Regions from separate parts of the Homo sapiens genome. Here region 2 is linked to region 1. Evidence: promoter capture Hi-C in 16 types of primary human blood cells and fetal thymus (Javierre and others, 2016). All regions are on one chromosome and are shown on one strand. Each heading gives the region's core, a stretch centred on a gene start or on the middle of the fragment in contact. The rest is flanking DNA. Distances are from core to core; before and after follow the strand shown. Region 1 holds the start of NEUROG1 (neurogenin 1). Region 2 has its middle 38 kb from the start of NEUROG1.

The links. The method cuts DNA at HindIII sites, captures the fragments that hold promoters and counts their contacts. A CHiCAGO score of 5 or more calls a contact.
Region 2: a fragment that was not itself captured here is called in contact with the fragment with the promoter of NEUROG1 in region 1 in 1 of 17 cell types (megakaryocytes); the score reaches 6.0 in megakaryocytes.

What each region holds. Positions count from the first base shown.
Region 1 is chr5:135,533,210-135,541,124 of GRCh38, forward strand. NEUROG1 (neurogenin 1) reads right to left here and starts at 2,755. Exons shown (of 1, transcript NM_006161.3): 1 at 1,073-2,755. The coding sequence starts at 2,481. The coding sequence ends at 1,768. RefSeq lists a silencer at 2,330-2,624 and an enhancer at 2,742-3,257. The HindIII fragment of the contact is 9,722 bases long and covers 296-7,915 here.
Region 2 is chr5:135,493,877-135,501,791 of GRCh38, forward strand. No RefSeq gene overlaps it. Among named protein-coding and RNA genes, the nearest start is that of NEUROG1, 38 kb to the right of the region's middle. RefSeq lists a silencer at 4,229-4,429. The HindIII fragment of the contact is 7,994 bases long and covers 1-6,804 here.

The sequences.
Region 1 (7,915 bases), core at 1,505-4,004:
CTCCTGAGCTCAAGTGATCCACATACCTGGGCCTCCCAAAGTGCTGGGATTACAGACATGAGCCACCATTCCTGGCTGAGATCTGGTCTTAACAATGTGGGGTAACTTGTGAGCTGAGGAAATAGTAAAAGCATTTTAGGAACTACCTCTTGTAATTACTCACATTCTAAAATTTTAAAACAAAAACTGCTACTAGCTGATGCTGTTAGCTAATTGTCAGACAACAGACAAACACACTGCAGCCAGAAAAATCCCCACTGAGTTTGGGCAGCTGATTTCTCTGGCATCAAATGAAAGCTTTAGCTATTGCCCCTGAGGCCTGGCTGAGCAAGCCCTGCACCCGAGCCCTCCCTCTGTGTGCCCCCCCTTCCCCACCACTATGGGCCGGAGCGGGTGTTAAGTGTGTGTGTGTGTGTGTGTTGGGGGGATGGGGGTTGAGAAGAATGCAGGCACCCTAGCTCACAATCTTAGGCAGCTACACACCCCACTCAGGACACCACACCAGCATGATTCATCCCACACCTCACAGCCAGGGTGAACTCGGCCTCAATGGACAACAATTTGGAGGCATTGTTTACAAATTAATTTCCCCCTCTAAATAGGCTGTTATAAGAGTGGACCCTTCTGCTTGCCTAGCCTAGGCCCACCTGTCACTGGGACTTCCTAACCAGTGGTCACACTGTATTGATCTTTTTAATCCCCTCTCTTTGAAACACAGAGCCAGCTGATGTGGAGTTCCTCAAAAGAAAGACTCTCCCACTGCCCCTACCTCAACAGGTAGCTGCGGATCCGGGGCTAATTCCCTACTAAAAAGTCTTAATTGGCTTATGGGGAGCCTGAAAGATCTCCCTTGTGTTTACAAGGTGAAAGGAATGATAGATCCCAAATGCCCTAGTCTGTCTTTATCCATTTCTTGGTGGAAATCAGGTGCGTTTTATTTTTTAATTGTTTTTGAAACAGGAACAGAGGCTTTGGAGGTGAGTGGGATAGTGTTTCACTTTAGTGGTTGAGCCAGCAGGGAAAAGCAAGAAAAGCCCCAGAGACACTAATATTAGGCAAGAAACTTGGCGACTTATTTTTAGTTTTTATTTACATGAAGCGTCTGCAGTACAAAAATGTAAACTTTGATAGCTCATAATAGAATAAACTCTTTATGTACAAAAATACATTTTCATATGAATGAAGCATCTTGAATAAATTAAAGTACTCTCCAGCCCTGTGCCTGAATAGCTAAGCAAGAGTCTCCAGTTCTTCCTAGAGCGAGTCTGCAGTGGTGGGGGTCGGGATCCATAATGCATGAAGCCCACTCCTTGTCTCTGCTTTTTAAGCCTTTTCATTGTATTGTCAGCCGGCTCAAACCGAATTTTCATGCTCGTTTTTCTTCATTAGAGTTCTACAAATTGTAAAATTGACTTTTCACCTCGTCTTCAGGGGCTGATCTGTCCCTTTTCTAAATCACACTGAAGTGGTGGCTGGGGTCAGTTCTGAGCCAGTCACAAAGGAGGTTTTGTGGAGTTCAGAAAGTGCAAAAGGAAAGGCCGTCTAGGGGCGGGCAGGAGGGGCGCTGGGCTGAGGGCCGGAGAAACAGACCAAGAGACATCCGCCGCGAGGGTGCGGCGACCTAACAAGCGGCTCAGGTATCCCCGACTGCTTTAAAGCTCCCGCTTCCTCCCTCCGCCTGGAGAGGGGGTCCCGAGGCGGCAGCTGGGGCCCCATCTATTGCCTGCTGACTAGGGGAGGGGGAAAGTAACAGTGTCTACAAAGGGCCTAGTGGTAAGGAATGAAACAGGGCGTTGTGTGGAGCAAGTCTTTGGGCAGGCTTGGGAAGGAGAAAACAGGGTCGCCGGGGCGGTAGGTGAAGTCTTCGGAGGCGGCTGGGCTACTGGGGTCAGAGAGCGGGGAGGCGGCGGCGGCACCTGAGCCCCAGGACTCCGCGTCGCTGGCGGGGCTTGGGGGACCGGGCAGGCAGGGGACGCACTGCGGCGGCAGGAGGCGCTCCCGGGCACCGCCTCCGGGCAGCCCTTGATCCGCCAGGCGCAGTGTCTCGGCCAGAGCCCAGATGTAGTTGTAGGCGAAGCGCAGCGTCTCGATTTTGGTGAGCTTGGTGTCGTCGGGGAACGAGGGCAGCACGCTGCGCAGTGCGTCCAGGGCCGCGTTCAAGTTGTGCATGCGGTTGCGCTCGCGATCGTTGGCCTTGACGCGCCGGCTCCTGCGCAGCGAGTGCAGCAGCGCCTCGGAGCGGACCCGCGTCCGGCCGCGGCGCCGCCGCCTCTCCTGCTCGTCGTCCTGTGCCCCTGGAACCTCAGACGCCCGGGAGATATTGGGCGCGCCCCTGCGGGCCGGCGCGGGCGGCCCCGAAGCGGAGGCTGCCTGTTGGAGTCTGGCACAGTCTTCCTCGTCGGTGAGGAAGCCGGATAGGTCACTGCCGCTGCTGCTGGCGCAGTCGAGGTCGGAGATGCAGGTCTCAAGGCGGGCTGGCATCGTTGCGCTGTGCAGGACCGACGGACAGATAGAAAGGCGCTCAGAGCGCTGCAGCCCGGACTGAGGGCAGAGCCGCCAGGGCGCACTTACGTTCCCAACAGCCTGGGGTTGTTACTCTGTGCCAGTTGCGGGTGCGAGAGCCTGGAAGGGTGCAGGGGCGCACGGAGAACTTGGCCTGGCCTCCTCGCCTCGCCTGCAGGGGCCACGCGCCCGGCCGGTCTCCTGAGTGATGTCGCCGGCGATCAGATCAGCTCGTGTGAGCACCGAGTGTGGCACACGACTGGCCTCAGGACCCCTTAAGTACCCGGCGCAACAATGGGCGCCCCCCTCCCTTGCCACCTCCGCCCCCGCGGCAGCCCGGGTGAATGGAGCGAGGCGGCAGGTCATCCCCGTGCAGCGCCCGGGTATTTGCATAATTTATGCTCGCGGGAGGCCGCCATCGCCCCTCCCCCAACCCGGAGTGTGCCCGTAATTACCGCCGGCCAATCGGCGGCGTCGCGCGGCCCCGGGAGTCGGCTCGGGCTAAGCTGGCCAGGGCGTCTCCAGGCAGTGAAACAGAGGCGGGGTCGGCGGGCGATTAGCGGCCGAGGCACGCTCCTCTTGGGGCGGGCTGGGCGCCCCTCGCTGGGGTGGGACGGGGAGGCGGGGCGCGAGCGCGAAAGTGTGAGCCGCCCAGTGAGTTGCGGAAACCTGGAGGGTACTTGGAGTTTGGGTTCGCATCCCCTCTCCAGCTGCTTAGTGGTCGCGTGACTTTGGACGAGTAATTTAACTTCCCTGAGCATTGCTTTCCCCACCTGTAAGATGAGACAAAAGTTTACCCTGTGGAGGATGATCAGATATAATGTTTGTGGAACACTAAATGTGCAGCATCCGCTGAACAGGGTGAAAATCATTTTCAAATAGACTGGAGAGTGGCCATGCCAGAGGCACAGGGCGCAGGGCAAGGATAAGTGTCGCTGCTCCGTTCAGGCTGATGAAGAAACGGGAAAGAATCTGACCTTCATCTGGGGAGTGCGAAGAGGAGAGTGGAAAAGAGGATCGGGTGATTTCCCAGGTTGCCTTGAGTCTTGGTCTCACCCTTCCCTTCTTTCCCTTCCCTTCTCCACCCTCCTCCGCACCTCTGCCCACAAGTCACCTCAAGATTCTTAATAAGAATTAATAATATGAGAATTTATATAAATAATAATATGAGAATATAATTATTAATATGAGAATTTCCTTTTCTTTGGCGTTCCTGAAACCTTGCCTGCCCCATGCCCGGAGAAATCCGTTGCACACCGTCTCTTGGAGCCCTGCTTGCAGCCTCTGTGGCCCTCTTCAGGGTGAGCCAGCCAGGGGATCCAGCTCCCCTGGCCCGAGAGAGAGCTGGCCCCTGGAGGGCAGCAGGTGACAGTGGAACCCCTTTCCTCCAAACCCCCTCCCGCCTTCGGTGTCTTAAACTCGCCTATTCCAGCAGGTCTTCCCTCTGCATGTCAGGAGTTACTTTTCTCTTGTCACCTACACTCACCCAGGAGCCACAGGGGCCCAGACATCACCCAACTTTGTACTTGGAGGATAAATAGTAAGGAACAGCACTCGATTATAGGATGAGGGTATTAAAAACAAAATGAGCAGCTTTCAGCAAAGTGCCTGCCCCCCACCTGATATCCAAGTGGTAGCCTCAGGCCGGATGCCTGGCCTGCTGCCATGGGAGCCTAGCTGACTCTTTGGGTTGGGGGGGGATTGGCCCCTTTGAGAAAGGGGGCTGTGTAGTGGCAGTTCCCACCTCGACTCACTGACCAGCGCTTGCCTTCTGGCTCAGGGGACTCTGCCCAGCTGTCCCCTTCCCCGACTGCACCCTGCAGGTACCCCTGATCTCAGTGGAAGGCTAGGACACAGTCATATATAAGGGCTCGAGATTTATTAGAAGTCACAGAAAGTGGCTTCGACCAGCTCACTCAGGAAAGGGCAGTTGTTGGATGGATACGGGGGCTTCTCAAGAACTCAAGGGCTTCGAGGACTTGTGTAAACCAGCAGGAGCCCAAGGGTCCTCTCTCTGCCCCCCACCTCTGTTTCTCTCCCTGTGTCAGCTTCCTTTCTTTGGACTGCCACAACAAAATTCCACAAACTAGGGGGTTTAAGGCAACAGAAGTTCATTCTCTTACAGTTCAAGAGGCCAGAAGTCTGTAAGCAAGTTTTTGGCAGGGATGGCTCCTTTTCGGAGGCTCTGAGAGAAAATCTGTGACATGCCTCTCTTGCAGCTTCTAGTGGTGGCTCCTGGCCATCTTGGCCATTCATTGATTGGCAGCTGTGTCACTCCAATCTCTGCCTCCTTTCTTCATGCGGCCTTCCTCTCTGTGTCTTCTCCTTCTCTGTCTCTTGTAAGGACACTTGTCATTTGATTTAGGGCCCAGCTAATCCAGGATGATTTAATCTTGCAACCCTTGCCTTCATTATATCTGCAAAGATGCTTATTCCAAATAAGGTCCCATTCTGAGATTCTGGGTGGACATATCTTATGGAGGCCCACTATTTCAACCCACTACAACAAATGGTTTTCCAAATTCCTGAATGAGAGAATTGGTTTGGCCAGTGTCACTTTTTTGGCTGACAGGTACGTGAAGAGCTTTCCTGTTGAGAAATTTGAATGCATGAGAACCCCTTCCCCATTCCTAGCAATTAGGGTGTGGCCAAAAGATTTTAGTACAGGCAGTTAGCTGCCCCATTTGCAATTTAGGCTCAGAGCTGGTGACAGTCTAGAGTTCACTTGTGTCATGGCAACAACCCGGGAGAGCCAGTGACCAGTGGTGGAAGAGGTGGCCAGGAACCAGTGGACATCCTGTCTGAACTCTTCCCAGGGCCAGCCCTTGTTCCATCTGTTTTTTGAGCCTGGTTCTCCAGCCTTCCCACTGATTGCATGAGCCCTCCCATAGCGGGCCTTTCGTTAGTGGGGCTTTTCTGCTTCAGATAGCCAGGATTAGTGTCTGCGGTTTCATAAATAAAACACCAAGTTAAATCCTCAGGTTGCTGAAGCATAGAGAATTATCCTTGTATTATTTTGAAGTAATCCATTGGCTATGTTGATTGCCTGTGCTGGGCCAGGCACTGTGCTGGACACTGGGGTGACAGGGGTGATAAACTTGGCTGATGGGTATCATGGGCTCTGAGTCTTGCAAGCCAGGGTTCAGTGCCAGCAGAACCTTTGGAAATTATTCATCTATCCACTGCACCTCATACATGGGAAACTGAGGTGGGAGATGGGGAGGTCTTTTTTCCAGGTTACCCCAGGGATCGCTGGTGGTCAAACTAGGCCAGACTCAAGAGTCCTTTCAGGCCCTACTCTATGTTCTTCCATCATAGTCAATCAACAAATATACATGGAGAACCTACTGCATGCTGCCCTGTGTCAGGTGCTCTGTGGAGTGTGAAGCAGGCCTATAGTCCTAAAGGAGAGGAGATGTAGCATTAGGACTAGAGAGGTGTCGAGGGCCTATTAAGGGAGCAGATCTGAAGAGCATTGTGCACCTCCCAAAGGGAAGGCTTCTTGGCAGAGGGGGGACTCGCGAAGGCCTTGAAGGATGGGTGGGATGCGAATAGACAATTTAAGGAAAGAGAGGACTGGGGGTTACTATAGTGGCTATGTGGGTGCTGGTCTGGAGGATAGGGCTTCTGGGTGAACCCAGTGGAAAGAGGGTAAGGGGGCAGTTATGGTGGCCCTTGAATGGCCAGGGCAGCCTTCCTTGTTCCATTCCATCTCCTCCTCTTGCTTCTTTCTCTGAGCAGGGCTGTTAAAATTGTTCTAGTCATTCACTGTACAAGGACATCTGGTAGAGGGGGCAAGTAAGGGCTGAAATCTAGCCTCTCTACCACCCGCCAAACCATGCACCCTGACATGGGCTACACCTGTTCAGAGAGGGCACCTTGTCAAATATGTCCAGACGCACCTTATGAGCTAGCAGTAGGTCTGTGCCTTCTCCTGCCATGCTTCACTCCCTTTCCTGAACCTTAGAGAGCTGAGCAGGCAAGCATCCAAGCCTTGCCCTGCCTGCTCCTGGCTCTTGGGCAGGGCATGTTGTGGCTCCTTCTTGGCTGTTAGTGCCTACCCCTTGTGCTTTTTATAAGTGCATCTGCAGGGGGCCCTCCTATAAGTGATCTACTGAGGATGGAACTGAGCCCTGGCAGGATGAGAATGAACGGGCAGCTTAAGAGGCCCAGAGCCTCTCCTCAAGAGAAAAAGGCCAGGCCACAGTTAGAAGGATGTGCATGCTTGCCAGGGAAGATGAAAGTTTCTCCTGCCCCTCGAAGCCTTCTAAGCATAGTACCTGAGTGTACCCTCATTCTCAGAGTATAATAGAAGGTGATGTGGGCATGTAATAAATCCAACCACAGCAGGCGCTGCTATGGTGAGCACCATACCAGGTGTTCTGCCTGATGTGTGGACATCCAGCTGCCAATCTGCTGGGGGGCAGGGGAGGGTAGCCAGATGTTCCAAGGTGGGGCAGATGTTCCAAGGGACTAAGGATTAAGCTGGAGCTTCTTACACTGTGGTTACCTGGGGTAGTAGTGATGGTGGGGGTCCCCACCCCGTACCCCTGGAATCAGAATCTCTGGAGCACATGCTAAAGTCACTATTGACTGATACCTAGAGCCAATTTATTCACACTAGAATCGATATTTTGCATTAGCAACCACCCTCCTATCCTGTGCTTGCCTCAGCTCTTGAAGCAGGTCAAGTACATTTATGTGACAGCTAAGATGAGCTCTAAGGGCATACCTGTTCCAGGCAGCCCTAGGGATCTGACTCAAGACTCTGGTGGGACCAGCAGGGATGTGATTTTACTTCATCATCAAGAAGGCCTTTCTGGCATCGACACACTGATGAAGAAACAGCTTTCTTGAGAGGTGAGAGGGAGGGACTCTCAGGGTGCAGCAAGGTGTTGGATGCTTCCAGGGTCTTGAGAGACTTGGTTTATTATTATTTTTTAAATAAAGGCCAAAATAGGGGAGAAATGGTGGTAAATTATAAAAGTTTACATATAATAAATCAATGTGGTTAACAAATAAAAATATAAAGGAGTCTGTGCTGTTCACAAGGCAATTTCAGGATTTTAAAGTGACCATCAAATTATAGTGCCTGTAGGCATAGAGATCCAGGGATGGATCCAGATTGGAATTTGTGACGGAGCATCTTCCTCTACCCTGTCAGTGTCTCAGTGACCATGTGTATGTCCTCGTTTGGAGTTAGAGTCCATAGCCTTCCAGCCCTTTTGTAAAAGCAAGGTTGAGCCAAATAGCCTCTCTGCTGGTTATCAGAAACACTTCAACCTGGGGTTAAGAGATGCTGTAACAGGAACTGGACTGGAAGGTTAGTGTCCTGTAATAACAAGTACTGAGATGATAATCTGAAGGGGCTGAGGGGAAGGGGACACTATCACATTTCATACTTTCCTTGCTA
Region 2 (7,915 bases), core at 1,558-4,057, 39 kb before region 1:
TGGCCTCTTACCAAGAAGAGGCTTAAAAGGTTTTCTCTCTAAGAACCAGGTCCTGAACATCTTGAGGTGAAGAGTCAGGAATGGGAGGAATTTAACCACCCAGAGTTGCTGGCAGCTGTGAGGGGAAAGCCTGGAGCCATGTTTGAGAAACAGGCTCCACAGGGGTGGCTTAACTGAAGAGAGGAGAGCAGATCATGAGGCTGGAAAGATGGGCTTGGGGAAGGACTGAGGAGTCAGTGCATAGCCCTCTCTGTCCTCTGGAGCCTTGAGAATATTCGCTTTTAGAGACAGATAAATGGAGAATATCCCGGGCACACCACCAAGCCCTGCCAGGAGCTGAAGCCAGGGCTTAAAGCATCATGTGTGAAGGTCCCTGGGCGGTGCCCTGGAGAATCCCGGCAGAGGCTTCCTATCTCTGGTTATTGTTTCAGCTCTCCACATACCGCTAGTCCCTCCATCATTTAGGCCACAGCATTGTGCTGGCTGTGGCTACTCCCTGTTTCCCATCCCATTGTAACAGACCCCTTTTCGACCAAGTCCTTTCAGTTCGAACAAGAAGACAAAGGCTGGCCCTCCAAGGAGAGGCTTCTCTTTCTAAATATTTACCCTGCTGCCCTGATTCATCATTAAGACTTCCTTTGTGTGGAGCTGCACAGGCACAAGTCATTGCCCCCCAGCCCACCATGCTTGACATGGCCAGTGGTTCAAGCCTCCCTGTCCTTCCCTTGCCTCCTTTAGGGGTAAAAGATGCAGAGGCTTGAACCACTTCTCCCTTCCTGCCTTCTGGAGAGGCCCTGGGCCAGCCACTGGCTGGCAATGCTCAAGAGGTGCCTCTGACAGTGCAGGTTTACTTTCTTTCTTTTTTTACGTGGTCAAAGGATATTTGAAGATTGAAAGTTCACTAAGCATTTTAGGAACTCATTCCAAGGCAGCTCACATTCCTTCAACAAATGTTGATTGAGTACATGTGTGAGATGGGCCTTGTCTTTCCTTCCAGAGCCCTTAGAACCCAGCATAAGCCTGATGCGCAGAAGGTGCTTAGAAATACCAAGAGAATCACAGAGCAGCCACGGGAGGAAGTCATCAGACAGAGAGGAGACTCCTTGCCTACCCTAGCAAGCTCTTCTTCTCACAGTTTTACTGCATATGGTTCTGACGTCACTTCCTAGGCAGGTTTAGCTTTTTGTTTCTGTAGAAGACATTTTCTGGAAAACTGCATAAGTTAGGTTGTTGTAAATTGGAACCTTGGAATTGTCCCAGACTCCTAGAAATGGGATAAGAGGTGCAAGAGTCCTTATCCAAGTGGTTTAAACAGCAGTAAACATTTGTTGTCTCACTGTTTATGTGGGTCAGAAGTTTGGAAATGGCTTAGCTGTGTGGTTCTGTTGTGGGGTGTCTCATGTGGTTGCAGTCAAGATGTCAGCTGAGGCTGCAATCTTTTGAAGGGGTGACTGGGAATGGAAGAGCTGCTCCCAAGATGGCATGCTCACATTGTGGGCAGTTGGTGTTGGCTGTTGGTGAGGGCCTCAGTTCCTCACTTTGTAGACCTCTTCACTGGGCTGCTTGAGTATTCTCAAGACATTGCAGCTAGCTGGCTGCCCCCAAAGCAAGTGTTCCAACAGTGGCAAGGAAAATGCCACAATGTCCTTTCTGACGCAGCCTTGGAAGTCATAGTCCATCGTTTCTGTAACATCCTTGCATTAGTCTGTTTTCATGCTGCTGAGAAAGACATACCTGAGACTGGGAAGGAAAAGAGGTTTAACTGGACTTACAGTTCCACGTGGTTGGGGAGGCCTAAGAATCACAGCAGGAGGCAAAAGGCACTTCTTACATGGCAGCAGCAAGAGAAAATGAGGAAGAAGCAAGAATGGAAACCCCTGATAAACCAATCAGATCTCGTGAGACTTACTCACTATAATAACACAAGAAAGACTGGTCCCCATGATTCAGTTACCTCCCCCTGGGTCCCTCCCACAACATGTGGGAATCCTGGGAGATACAATTCAAGTTGAGATTTGGGTGAGGCCACAGTCAAACCATATCAATCCTATTGGTCAGCCCTGATCAGTGTAGGAGGACACTACACAAGGGGCTGAATACTGGGCGGCGAGGATGACTGGAGTGGTCTTAGAGGCTATCTACTGCACCTTTTAATATGGTACATATTTTCTTGTTTATTACACTTATTTTTCATTGTTTTTCTTTCACTACTAGCTCTTTGAAGGCGGGGTTCTTTGTCTTTCTTTGTTTCCCAAGTTTCTAGAATAGTGCCTACTACATAGAAGGCATGAAATAGATATTTATTGAATTGCATTAATTTGATTTGAATTATTTCCAAACAAAAATCAGTTCCCCCACTTGAAGGGGGTGGGGGAACTGATAATTAGTGCTTCTGACTTGTGTTTTTAAACCAAAGAATCCACTGTCTCTTATTGCTACTTATTAGATACGTCCAGTGTTTGCTATGTTGGCCTTTTTATTTTATTTTTAAAATAAGGCACTCTTGTATTTGAAGGTAGCTACTAAGCAAGATTTACAGGGACATAATCCTGTTCTTCAACTCTACAGGAAATAAAAGGGATCTTTTAAATCTTTCTGTTCCTCAGTTTCCTCATTTGAAAAATCGAATATTGCTGACTATATACTAGGGTGTTTTATGGATTAAGTGAGATATTTTACTTTTAAAGGATTAAAAGTAAAGTATATCTCCTACAGTAAGCACCCAAAAAATAAACTATATCAGTCAATTTTAGAGGTCATCGAGTCAGGAAACAGGCTGTGAGAAAGGTGGAGAAATCCTCTCTGAAACTTTTAGGACTGCCTGGATAATGCGTCAGGCATGTTGTCCTGTGCCGAAAGTATGTCGTTAACACCCGCACTGAGGCTCCTGCTGACTTGGATGACTGGAAACAACCTGGATGCCATTTAGGAATCTTCCTGGGCAAGTTGAGGAAATTGTGCGATCCACTTGCTAACTCAAGAGCACGTTTAGCAGGCTATCATTTGAGATCCTGTAGGTACTGGTCCTGGGCTTGCAGAGATGATAGAAGTGCAATCTTTGGCCTCAGGGGACTCACTGTCTTTAGGGAAAGACAGACAGATAAGCCACTCATTCTGATATAGTGGTCAGTGCAGTTGTTGAGTCCCTGGACCCTTGGGGAAATAAGTGGTGCGGAGACAGCATTATAAATGGGGTGATATAAACTAAGTTTTAGGGTTGGGTAAGAGTTGGGAGCATAAATGATAGGAAGCAGGGAAGGTTATGTCCCAGCAGAGGAAACAGCTTGGGCAAAGGCCTGCAAGCATGATATGGGTAGTGGGAGGGAGCACGTGGAGGTCATAAAGACAGATGAGGCTGAAGGTACAGAGGAAATAAACAGGCTGGAATTTTATCCTGTAGGATTTTTATTCTGTACCCCTGGAAATAGGTAAACGAATAGTGAGTGTGTCAGACTTGTATTTTAAAATCCACTGGTGGCCTTCTGGAGGACAGACCAGAATGGGTGAGACCTGAAGCAGGGAGATGAGAGGGGAAACTGGTGCAGGGACCCTGCAGCCATGGGTAGAAATCGTGGATTGCAGGATTCCACTGGGCATGACCCAGGGACACTCCCAGTCTCATCTGGAAGAAGAATCTAAGGTTTCTTCCCTGATGATCTGCCCCAGTTACTGCCAGTGGAGGGAGTCCTTGGGGGACCACCTTACTATTCAAAAGTGGAAAACAAAGGAGGCAGGGATTTGGTCCAATGACTTTGCACCTGCTTTCTTCTACTGGAGAGGAGGACACCTATTTCAGAAGAGAAGTCCACAACCCCCTATTTTCTCCTTTATCCCATTTGAAATGCTACTGAAGCCTTTACAATGACCCTGTACTTACTCCCAGCATTTAATTTTATGCCTGGCTCATCGTACACTTGGGATAAAGACGATGGTTACATGATTCATTTTCTTCTGGAGACCAGGGCCTAAGACCCACCAATCTTTACCTCCTCCATAAAACATAGCACAGGGTCTAGCTCTTTTAGCAGAACCCAGTAAGTAGATGACATTGGCAAACAAATTCAAGCACTGCTTTCAAACCTTTTCTGCAGAGAAGGTGTGCGCCACATTTACACATACATGTACACACATGTGCCTGCCTCCCCGCCCCACCCTACCCCAGGCTATTTTCCAGAATAGGATTTAACAGATCAGTCTCCACCCCATTCCCTCCCGACCCTGGCTTCATAGCCAGGGAAGCGAAAGATGAGCTGAGTGCTTTTTCTTTTGAGTCAGATGACTCAGATCTCAGTTAAAGGGAGACACATCTGTCATGCTCAGCCTGGGGACTTTGGGACAGGTCTCTGGGGCCAGCCTGCAAATCTTGAACTAACTCACTCCCTTTGATGGGTGATAGGGAATCCTCCACCTGACATGCAGGGACAGAGGGGACCCTGGGTCTCCTGTGCCTCTTCCCTCTGCTGCTAGGTCCCTCCCTCGTGCTGGGTGCTCACCGTAGGGATCCTCATCTCCCACTCTGTGTGTGAGGCAAAGGCGGGAGACATGTGTGAGGTTTTTGTGGTGGAGAAAATCTGGCAGTCCTGAATTTATTCCTGAATCTACCATCTGCTGAGTGTGTTCTTGAGGATTATGATACATTTTTTAAAGCAGTGGGGGAGGTGAGAGGGTGAAAAACTGGTGATTCCTTCTCCACCTCTTCCCTGCTGTTCTTGGAGCCATGCAGAGCCAGGCCTTGGCATCCTGAGGCCGGGTGCACCTGGGAGTCAGATCCAGTCTCAGGTCTGGCTCTGCCACTTTTCTGACCCTGACATTTAGTCTGTTTCCATCATAAAATTGGACAAACATGCCTGCTGTTCACCTGAGGATCCAATGAGTCACTGTATGCATGAGGTCTTTTAAACTGTAGAGGTACTTGGGCCTGCCATTAGTTGATGGTGCTGAAGCAGAACCTAAGAGCCAGCGTTCAACTAGGACCAGGCATGCTGCCACTTGGGGACATCAGTGCAAGGTGTCGCCACAGCTTTCACTCCCAAGCATGGATGGCAGGGAAGCTGGGATGCAGCTTTGGAAGCTGACCTTTGGTTATCAATGAATTAAAATTCACTGATTGCTAAAGGGGGCGGGGAAGAGAAAGGATGAAGCTGGCACCTGCTCTAACGGGGTGGGTGAGCGTGTCCCCTGCCCCCAGCTGCAGCATCCTGGCTTGGCCTCAGAGTCTGACAAATGTCTTTTCTCATAGAAGAAAGGAAGGAGAGGGGGGAGCAAGGCTTCAAGCTGAGCCACAGAAGGGAGTACAAGGTTGAATCAGATGACCCCACCTGCTCTTTCCCACCCCTTTGTAAATACTTCAGATCCTAGAAGAAAAGGAGCATTTTCCCCAGGAAAAGTAACCAACCATTCTGGTTTACCCAGAACTGAGGGGATTCCTGGGATGCGGGAATTTCAGTGTTGAAACAGGGACAGTTCCAAGTGAACTAGGATGGCAGGTTGTCCTACCCCCAAGGTAACTGCCTCCAGATAGTTTATTACTTCTGAATAGATTGCTCAGCTGATCCCTTTATTAACTACAGGAGAAGCAACTTTACTCCCCCTCCCCCCCCACCCCTAGGAGTAAGAGAACAAGGAAACTTCATTTCATCTTAGATTTCTGCATTGGCAGCACTGTGATTGGTAACAAGGAATGGATGATGGATGAAGCACGCTCTTCGATTAACTGAAGGTGATCTACATAGGTCATGGTGAGATATGTTGGAAGACATAAGGCCCATTAAATGCATAATTCATGTGAAAATGGTGAGCTCAAAGATGTTCATCCGGCTCTGCCCGAAAAGAAATCTGAAATAAAATGGATATGTGTTTACCTTTTTTGCTGGAGTTGTAGCTGGTAACCTTGGTATTTGAGGGTTGTAAATGCATGTGCCTAGGGTTGTGTGTTATGGTGGGAAAGGCCTGGATTTGGCAAATTGATCCTCATTTGAGTCTTTGCCTTTCCACTTATTCTCTTTCTCCGAAGGCAGGTATTTCACTGCCCCCAGCCTTAGTGTTCATATCTGCAAAATGGGTAACATACTTACCACAAGGTTGCTTTGAGGATTAAAAGTCACACCACCTATAAAGCGCTTGGCATGCAGGCGCAGTGGCTCACGCCTGTAATCCCAGCACTTTGGGAGGCCAAGATGGGCAGATCACTTGAGGTCGGGAGTTCGAGACCAGCCTGGCCAAAATGGTAAAATCTCATCTCTACTAAAAATACAAAAATTAGCTGGGCATGGTAGCGGGCACCTGTAATATCAGCTACTTGGGAGGCTGAGGCAGGAGAATCGCTTGAACCTGGGAGGCCGAGGTTGTGGTGAGCTGAGATCGTGCCACTGCACTCCAGCCTGGGAAAAGAGGGAGACTCTGCCTCAAAATAAAAAAAATAAAATAAAATAAAATAAAATAAAATAAAATAAAATAAAATAAAATAAAATAAAATAAAATAAAATAAAAATAAAATGCTTGGCATGATCCCTCAACATAGTAGAGATCTGACACCATGAAATCCCTCACATCTCTCAGGGATCTTAACTTTTCCTTTGGTTATATATGCTTTTCTAACTTTTTGTTCTTAGCATGTTTTACAATATTTGCTTCATGCAATGGTACACACATAAGACAAACATAAGTTACAACACAAAATGAGTACCCAGAAACTTATCACCCAACCTAAGATCTAGAGCAGGGGTCCCAATCCCCAGGCCATGGGCCTATACCAGTCCATGGCCTGTTAGGAACCAGACCACAGAGCAGGAGGTGAGTGGTTGAAGCTTTGTCTGTATTTATAGCTGCTCACCATCACTCACAATACTCCCTGAGCTCTGCCTCCTATCAGATCAGTGGCAGCATTAGATTCTCCTAGGAGCGCAAACCCTATTGTGAACTGCACAAGTGCGGGATCTAGGGTGTGCACTCCTTATAAGAATCTAATGCCTGATGATCTGTCACTGTCTAGTTGCAGGAAAACAAACTCAGGGCTCCCACTAATTCTACATTATGGTTAGTTCTATAATTATTTTTATTATATATTACAATGTAATCATAATAGAAAAAAGTGCACAATAAATGTAATGCTCTTGAATCACCCTGAAACCAACTCTTGACCCTGGTCTGTGGAAAAATTGTCTTCCGTGAAACCGGTCCCTGGTGTCAAAAAGGTTGGGGACCATTGATCTAGAGCATTCATTTCCCAGGACTGCCATAACAAATTACCACAAACTGGGTGTCTAAAAACAAAGGAAATTTATTCTCTCACAGTTCTGACCAGAAGTCCAAAATCAGGGTGCCAGTAGGGCTCAACTCCCTCCAAATGCTCTTGGAAAGAATCCTTTCTTGCCTATCCCAGCATCTGGTGGTTCCTGGCATTCTTTGGCTTGTGGAAACATAAATCCAATCTTTGCCTCTGTCTTCACTTGGCCTTCTTTCCTGTGTCTGTGTCTAAAACCTGCTGCTTCTATCTCTTAAAAGAACACCCGTCATTGGACTTAGGGCCCACCAAACATCCAGGATGATGTCAGCCTGAGATTCTTAATTACAACTACAAAGACCCTATTTCCAAATAAGGTCACATTCACAGTACCAGGAGTTCAGACTTGGACATATCTTTTTTAGGCGCACTCTTAAACCAACTGCGATCATCATTATGAGTTTCCCTCTGCCCATGCTTTTTCCATTAATGTTATATTTCTTAAGAGTCATTCATATTGATGTAAGTAGCTGTAGTTCATTCATGCTTAATACTCTGTTGGGTACTAGTACCCCAATACATTTATCCATTCTCCTGAAAATGGATATTCAAGTTATTTCCACTTTGAGGCATCATAAACAATGCTTCTTTATCTCCTGGTGCTCAAGTGCAAACGTTTATCTAGAATATAAG